Linked DNA regions of Homo sapiens: regions 1 and 3 are each linked to region 2. The links are contacts of gene promoters, found by promoter capture Hi-C in blood cells and fetal thymus (Javierre and others, 2016). All regions are on one chromosome and are shown on one strand. The core of a region is centred on a gene start or on the middle of the fragment in contact, and the rest is flanking DNA. Distances in the headings are between cores, read along the strand shown. Region 1 has its middle 19 kb from the start of ALOX15B. Region 2 holds the start of RANGRF (RAN guanine nucleotide release factor). Region 3 has its middle 4.4 kb from the start of TRG-GCC2-6.

Region 1 (2,700 bases), core at 183-2,682, 230 kb before region 2:
GGTGGTGTATCAGGCAGGTTCCCCTACATCTTTGGCACCCAACACGGTCTCCTTGAACCCAGGTGAAGTTACACCTGAGCGTGGTCGTTGTGAAGAACGGTCTGTCCAGGAACTCCCGAGAACGTGTGGTCGGCCTTGCGGTAAGCTTGTGCACTCGGAGCATTCCAGGGACACCATGGGACAATCCAAAAGTAAACATTCTGCATATTTACATTTTATTAAGCTCCTCTTAAAGAGGGCAGGAATTAAGGCTAGCACAGAAAATTTGATTACTCTGTTTCCAACAGTAGAGCAATATCGTCCTTGGTTTCCTGAACATGGTACCATGGACTTCAAAGATTGGGAACAGGTGGGAATTGCCTTAAAACAAGTTTGTAAGGAAGGAAAATTTATCCCCCTAACAGCCTGGTCAAACTGGGCTATAGTTAAAGCAGCCTCGGAACCGTTTCAATCGGAAAATGAGGCTTATCCTCCAGCAGAAAGAATTTCTGCAGAGGAAGGTGGTGATGCTGCTGAAGGAGGAGAGGATAGTGAAGAAGATTTTGAGGAAAATACAGACAAACCTGGAGATGAGTTAATTTCTTTTGAGGAGCACGTGGGACCTTCAGCTGCTCCTAAAATAGAGAAGCCATATATGCCAAGATGTTTAAAACAAAGAAGGGCCTTGAGGAGCAGTCGGCTCCTCATTGGGATCATCCGGAGTGGCCGCCTCCAATAAAGCAATGTAGCTTGGAGCCTTGGAGGTCTGAATCTCAAATTTGCCCTGTTTCACGAATGAATGAATTGTGGCCTCAGGAACCACGAGCGCATGGTGTAGCACCAGTACAACATAAGGCTGCACTGCCATCTAATGTTAATGAATCGCCATTACAGTTTACTATTCGGCAGGCTAGATTAGCCGGAGATCTTGATGCCTGGCAGTTTGCAGTAGTTTTGCAACCCCCACGACAGCAAGGTGGAGCCCATCAAGCGGTATGGGAACCATTTTCTTTTAAGCTGCTCAAAGATCTTAAAGCAGCTGTTGGTCAGTATGGTCCCAATTCGCCTTTCATCCGATCGCTATTGCAATCTGTGGCTCAGAATAAGCTATTGACTCCGTGTGATTGGGAGATTTTAACGAAAGTTACACTTTCGCCCTCCCAATTTCTTCAGTTTAAGACTTGGTGGACCGACGAGGCTCAAAATCAAGATCGAAAAAACCGTGCTGCTAATCCTGCTATTGCCATTACATTTGAACAACTTCTAGGAATAGGGGGTCAATGGGGAACTGTAAACAACCATCAGGACTTCGAGATGATGCCATTGAACAAATTCGCAATTGCTGTTTGAGGGCATGGGAGAAAATTCAGGATCTGGGAACTACTTATCAGTCTTTTAATTCTATTAGACAAGGCTCAAAGGAACCATATCCTGATTTCATTGCTCGCCTTCAAGACGCAGCACAGAAGGCTCTCACTGATGAAAGTGCCAGGAAGGCCGGGTGCGGTGGCTCATGCCTGTAATCCCAGCACTTTGGGAGGCCGAGGTGGGCGGATCACCTGAGGTCGGGAGTTGGAGACCAGCCTGACCAACATGGAGAAACCCCGTCTCTACTAAAAATATAAAAATTAGCCGGGCGTGATGGCACATGTCTGTAATCCCAGCTACTCAGGAGGCTGAGGCAGGAGAATTGCTTGAACCCAGGAGGCGGAGGTTGCGGTGAGCCGAGATCACGCCACTGCACTCCAGCCTGGGTAACAAGAGCGAAACTCCGCCTCAAAAAAAAAAAAAAAAAAAGAAAGAAAGAAAGAAAGTGCCAGGAAGGTGATTGTAGAATTATTGGCTTGTGAGAATACTAACCCTGAATGCCAGTCAGCTATTCACCCAGTGAAAGGAAAGGTTCCGGTGGGAGTTGATGTGATTAATGAATATATCAGGGCATGTAATGGAGTTGGTGGAATCATGCATAAGGCTATGATAATGGTTCAAGCCACGACAGAGTTAAAAGTGGGAGGTCCAATTAAAAACTTTTCAGGCAATTGTTACAATTGTGGGCAATTTGGACACACAAAAAAGGAACGTAAGAACAAATCGAACAAACAGGCAAGATATAATCAAATAAAAGAACCACCTGGCTTATGTCCCAGGTGCCAGAAGGGTAAACATTGGGCTAATCAGTGTCACTTCAAATTTGACAAAAATGGCCAACCGTTACAACCGCAGTCGGGAAACAGGAAGAGGGGCCAGCCTCAGGCCCCGCTCCAAACGGGGGCATTCTCACTCCAGCAGTTGGTCCCTCAGTCGGTCATTGCCTCTAGTCCAACCACCATCATTGTCTCTTGCCCAACCACCACAGTAACACAATTGGCGCCAGCTACAGCAGGGAGTACAGGCTTAGATTTATGTTTCCCAAAAGCTATCTCTCTGCTTCCAGGGAAATCCCCTCAAAAAGTCCCCACTGGAGTATTTGGCCCTTTACCTGATGGACAGTTGGACTTGTTTTAGGAACATCTAGTCTAAACTTAAAAGGAGTTCAGATTCATACTGGGCTGATTGATTCAGATTTTGTGGGAGAAATTCAATTGGTTATTAGTTCCAGTATTCCTTGGAGTGCAAACCCAGGAGATAGAATTGCTCAGCTGTTGTTATTACCTTATGTAATAGTAGAAAAAAGTACAGTAAAAAGAGAAAGTGGTTTTGGCAGTACTGACAGTGAAGGAA
Region 2 (2,700 bases), core at 57-2,556:
TCCCAGCACTTTGGGAGGCCAAGGCAGGCGGATCATCTGAGGTCGGAAGTTCGAGACTCACCTGACCAACATGGAGAAACTCCATCTCTACTAAAAATACAAAATTAGCTGGGTGTGGTGGTGCATGCCTGTAATCCAGCTACTTGGGAGGTTGGGGCAGGAGAACAGCTTGAACCCAGGAGGCGGAGGTTGCAGTGAGCCAAGATCATGCCATTGCACTCCAGCCTGGGCAACAAGAGTGAAACTCCATCTCAAAAACAAAACAAAACAAAAAAACCCAATATATATCAGGTCTGTTATGCTCTAAACACCGTGCCGGGTGCTGAGGATCAAAGATGAATAGAGAAATGAACTGAAATGATATAGTGAAGTTAAAACTTAAAGAACACAACAAATCTGTAAAAGACAAACAAAAGAGGGTTTAATCTGTGCTTCTGTCCAGGTGTGTGGAGCTGGGGGTGGGGTTGCACCTGCCCGGGAGCATTCCCAAGGCAAATATTTGAGAGGAATTAGATTTCTAATACCCAGGTTGGCTCTCACTTTCAGGAAGATGTGAGACCTGAATCCTAACCTGGACGCATTGTTCCCCTAATTCCCAGCAGCAGATCTATGAATTAGCGGTCTGGGTGGCAGCCCATTCTTCTTTCAGAGGCCCAGAACACCGTGAAACTATGCTTTCCTGACTCAAGAGACCCTACCTAGACGTGGGCCCCTTTGACGAGCACCTGCCCCTCAGGAGGGTCTCAGGCGACCTTCTTGGAAGGTGTGACCACTTGAAAAGGACGAGGAGGCCAGGCGCTGTGGCTCTCGCCTGTAATTCCAGCACTTAGGGAGCCGAGGCGGGAGGATCGCTTGAGTCCAGGAGTTTGAGGCCAGCCTGGGCAAGATTGGGAGACACTCCCCACCCCGCCCCATTTCTACAAGTAATTAAAAATTTAGCCGGGCGTGGTGGCGGGAGCAGGAGCCACTCAAGAGGCTGAGGCAGGAGTATCACTTGAGTCCTGGAGGTGGAGACTGCAGTGAGCGGTGATCGCGCCACTGCATTACAGCCTGGGCGACACAGCGAGACCTGTCAATCAATCAATCAATCAATCAATCAAGAGGAGGCTGGCGGGAGCATGCTCGTGACCACCGGGGGCGACATAGACCCTAACCCTAAGTCCAACCCCAAGGCAGACCCCACCGTCCCGCCAGGCGCACTCCTAAGAGCGCGGCTTCCGGAGCAAAGCCGCTGACCCCCGCCCCCAGGGTCTTGGCGCCGATTGGCCAACGAGAGCGCAGGGCGGAGCCAAATCTTAAAGGATCCGGGAGCTAAGCCAGACCCGGGTGGCGGTGGCAGCTGCGAAACCCAGGGAGCCGATGCCACGTGACCCAATGTGGACTTCTTTTAAACCTTTCTAATGCCCATAACCCAGCCTCAGACCCATGGAGCCCACGAGAGACTGCCCGCTGTTCGGGGGCGCCTTTTCCGCCATCCTCCCCATGGGGGCCATTGACGTAAGGTGAGAAGGCCGGGGCGCCCAGGGGCGGCTGACTGGGTGGGTTGTGGGAAGAGACCGGGGTCAACCAGGGTCTGCCTCGCCTCACTCCAGCGACCTCCGACCGGTCCCGGACAATCAAGAAGTTTTCTGCCATCCCGTGACGGACCAGAGCCTGATAGTGGAACTTCTCGAGCTGCAGGCCCACGTACGGGGCGAAGCGGCTGCGCGGTGAGGGAATGGCCCCCGGCTGGCCAATGGCAGGGGCGGGGTCGGACCAGTGGGCGGGGCCCGCGGCCGACGGTTAATCCGGGCGGTGAGACCACGCACGGGCCGGGAGCCAGGCCTGCAACTTAAAGATGCTCCCGGGGAGGCGACCAGAGATGTCCCTTCCTGACCCCGCTTCCCTACTCCAGGTACCACTTTGAGGATGTTGGTGGCGTGCAGGGGGCTAGGGCTGTCCATGTGGAGTCTGTTCAGCCTCTCAGTTTGGAGAACCTGGCCCTGAGGGGCCGCTGTCAAGAAGCCTGGGTCCTCTCTGGCAAGCAGCAGATAGCTAAGGAAAACCAGCAGGTGAGGGCCCGAGAGTGTGTAATGTCCTGGAAGGGCGGTAGCGGGGACGCAGAGATCCAGGTAAGCATCCTGACTCTGATCCCCTTAGGTAGCAAAGGACGTGACACTTCATCAGGCCTTGCTGAGGCTGCCCCAGTACCAGACTGATCTCTTGCTTACCTTCAATCAGCCCCCGTAAGGAGGAAGGAACGGGCGGGTATCTCATGACTGGGTTCCCAGGAGAATCGGGCTGGGAGGGACAGAACAGGGAGACTCACTGGTGGGATCCTCCAAGGAAGCAGGAGTGGGCCAGAGGTTTGGGGTAACTGATACCCAGGTCCTCTGGGGAACAGGAATTGGCAATTTCCAAACCTCAGGCCTGGATGATGTTCTGTCTCCATCTGTTCCCCCACCCCAAGCCCTGACAACAGGTCATCTCTTGGCCCCGAAAATCTGTCACCTGCACCCTGGAGCCTGGGTGACTTTGAACAGCTGGTGACCAGTCTGACCCTTCACGATCCTAACATCTTTGGTCCCCAGTAAAGGCGCTGAAGCACTGCATGATGTTGCTGAGAACTTGGGGACTCGGTTCTGTGAGGGGGAAAAGAGGTTGAAAAGAGGGTTTCCTCTTATTTCTTCCCTGTGCGTAAACATAAGACAATCCCTCTTC
Region 3 (2,700 bases), core at 139-2,638, 160 kb before region 2:
TTCGGGTTTTTTTTTCCTTTTTGTTTTGAGGCAGAGTCTCACTCAGTTGCCCAGGCTGGAGTGCAGTGGGGCGATCCCGGCTCACTGCAACCTCCGCCTGCCGGGTTCAAGCGATTCTCCTGCCTCAGGCTCCCGAGTAGCTGGGATTACAGGCCTGTGCCACCACACCCCACTAACTTTTGTATTTTTAGTAGAGACGGGGTTTCACCATGTTGCTCAGGCTGGTCTCGATCTCCTGACCTCGTTATCTGCCAGCCTCGGCCTCCCGAAGTGCTTATCACCGAGCCTGGCGATAAGGATTTTTTTTTAGCCCCATTATAATCTTGCTCTTGTTGCCCAGGACGGAGTGCAATGGTGGGATCTCGGCTCACTGCAACCTCTGCCTCCCGGGTTCAAGCGATTCTCCTGCCTCAGCCTCTCGAATAGCTGCTCGAATATCTGGGATTACAGGCATTAGCCACCACGCCCGGCTAATTTTTGTATTTTTAGTAGAAACAGGGTTTCACCATGTTGGCCAGGCTGGTATTGAACTCCTGACCTCAAGTGATCTGCCCGCCTTGGCCTCCCAAAGTGCTGGGATTACAGGCGTACGCCATTGCATCCGGCAATCCCCATTATAATCATATATATATATATGCAGTCCATCATTGACCAAAACATTGTTATGCAGCGCATGACTGTAACTGGGTAGACGGTGGTGGTGGCTTTTAACTGAGATGGGAAAACCTGTGGGGTCGGGGAGAGGTTTAGGAAGAGAAATCAAGCATTATACTTTAGCCATATTAGTTAAGACATCCTGGCCAGGCGCGGTGGCTCACTTCTGTAATCCCAGCACTTTGGGAGGCCAAGGCGGGTGGATCACGAGGTCAGGGGTTTGAGATCAACCTGGCCAACATGGTGAAACACCGTCTCTACTAAAAATACAAAAACTAGCTGGGTATGGTGGCATGCGCCTGTGGTCTCAGCTACTCCAGAGGCTGAGGCAGGAGAATCTCTTGAACCCGGGAGGCAGAGGTTGCAGTGAGCCTAGACTGCGCTATTGCACTCCAGCCTCGGCAACAGAGGAAGACTCCGCTCAAAAAAAAGATATCTAGGTGGAGGTCACACATAGGTTAGGGATATACAAGTTTGGAGATCAGAGCTGGAGGGTAAATACGCTGGAGTGATTGGGAGATAGACGTCTTTTAATGCTATAAGACTGGAGCACCTAGAGAGAAAATGTGGCGGGAAAAGACTGAACATGGGCCGGGTGTGTTGGCTCATGCCTGTAATCTTAGCACTTTGGGAGGCTGAGGCGGGTGGATCACCTAAGGTCAGGAGTTCGAGGCCAGCCTGCCCAACATGACAAAACCCCGTCTCCACAAAAAATAGAAAAATTATCTGGGCATAGTGACGCACGCCTGTAGTCCCAGCTACTCAGGAGGCTGAGGCAGGAGAATCGTTTGAGCCCGGGAGGCCAAGGTTGCAGTCAGCCGAGATTGAGCCACTGCACTCCAGCCTGGGCATGAGAATCTGTCTCAAACAAAAAAAAAAGAAAAAAGAAGAAGAAGAAAAGAAAAGGCTGAACATGGACCTCTGGGGCACCCCAACACCTAGAGATTGGTTGAGGAGGAAGAATTGGCAACGGAGACTAGAGCGGTCAGAGAGGCAACAGGAAAACCAGGGGGAGTGGGGTGTTCTGGAAATCCAGAAAAGAGGGTGTATGAAGAAGGAGATTTTGCTATCTATTCCACAGCATGGTTAGTAATAACGTATTGTATATTATGAAATTATTAAAAGTCTATTTTAAATGTTCTCACCACGAAAAAATAAATAGATGAGGTGATGGATGTGTTAATTAGCTTGATTTAATCATTCTACAATGTATCCTTATATGGAAACATCACATTTTACCCCATAAATATATATAATTATTTGTCAATTAAAAATAATAAGTGAGGCCGGGCTCAGGGGCTCACACCTGTAATCCCAGCACTTTGGGAGGGTGAGGTGGGCAGATCAGGAAGTCAGGAGATCGAGACCATCCTGGCTAACACGGTGAAACCCCGTCTCTACTAAAAATACAAAAAAGATTAGCCAGGCATGGTGGCAGGCACCTGTGATCCCAGCTACTCGGGAGGCTGAGGCAGGAGAATGGTGTGAACCCCGGATGCGGAGCTTGCAGTGAGCTGAGATAGCGCTGCTGCATGCTAGCCTGGGCAACAGAGCAAGACTCCATCTCAAAAATAATAATAATAATAAGTGAATGAACACTTTTTTCTTTTTTTAACCTGTATCCAACAAGAATAAGTAATTTTTTCCTTTTTCTTTTTTCTTTTTTTGAGACAGAGTCTCAAAAGTCTATTTTAAATGTTCTCACCACGAAAAAATAAGTAGATGAGGTGACGGATGTGTTAATTAGCTTGATTTAATCGTTCTACAATGTATCCTTATATGGAAACATCACATTTTACCCCATAAATACATATAATTATTTGTCAATTAAAAATAATAAGGGAGGCCGGGCACAGTGGCTCACACCTGTAATCCCAGCACTTTGGGAGGCTGAGGTGGGCAGATCTCAAAAAAAAAAAAAAAAAATTAGCCGAGCATGGTGGTGGTGCCTGTAATCCCAGCTTCTCGGGAGGCTGAGGCAGGAGAATTGCTTGAACCCGGGAGGTGGAGGTTGCGGTGAGCCGAGATCATGCCACTGCACTCCAG

The links. Contacts are between HindIII fragments. The CHiCAGO score rates a contact against its expected background, and 5 or more counts as called.
Region 1: a contact is called between a fragment that was not itself captured here and the fragment with the promoter of RANGRF in region 2, in 7 of 17 cell types (activated CD4 T cells, naive CD4 T cells, total B cells and 4 more). The highest score is 8.2, in activated CD4 T cells.
Region 3: a fragment that was not itself captured here is called in contact with the fragment with the promoter of RANGRF in region 2 in 9 of 17 cell types (non-activated CD4 T cells, naive CD4 T cells, neutrophils and 6 more); the score reaches 9.2 in non-activated CD4 T cells.

What each region holds. Positions count from the first base shown.
Region 1 is chr17:8,057,009-8,059,708 of GRCh38, forward strand. No RefSeq gene overlaps it. Among named protein-coding and RNA genes, the nearest start is that of ALOX15B, 19 kb to the left of the region's middle. RefSeq lists enhancers at 669-1,186, 670-739. The HindIII fragment of the contact is 2,579 bases long and covers 144-2,700 here.
Region 2 is chr17:8,287,364-8,290,063 of GRCh38, forward strand. RANGRF (RAN guanine nucleotide release factor) reads left to right here and starts at 1,307. Exons shown (of 5, transcript NM_016492.5): 1 at 1,307-1,502; 2 at 1,593-1,709; 3 at 1,895-2,051; 4 at 2,140-2,225; 5 at 2,450-2,700. The coding sequence starts at 1,426. The coding sequence ends at 2,573. SLC25A35 (solute carrier family 25 member 35) reads right to left here. Exons shown (of 5, transcript NM_001320870.2): 5 at 2,698-2,700. RefSeq lists enhancers at 970-1,199, 1,560-1,679, 1,960-2,029 and a silencer at 1,760-1,809. The HindIII fragment of the contact is 37,216 bases long and covers 1-2,700 here.
Region 3 is chr17:8,128,809-8,131,508 of GRCh38, forward strand. No RefSeq gene overlaps it. Among named protein-coding and RNA genes, the nearest start is that of TRG-GCC2-6, 4.4 kb to the left of the region's middle. The HindIII fragment of the contact is 6,180 bases long and covers 1-2,700 here.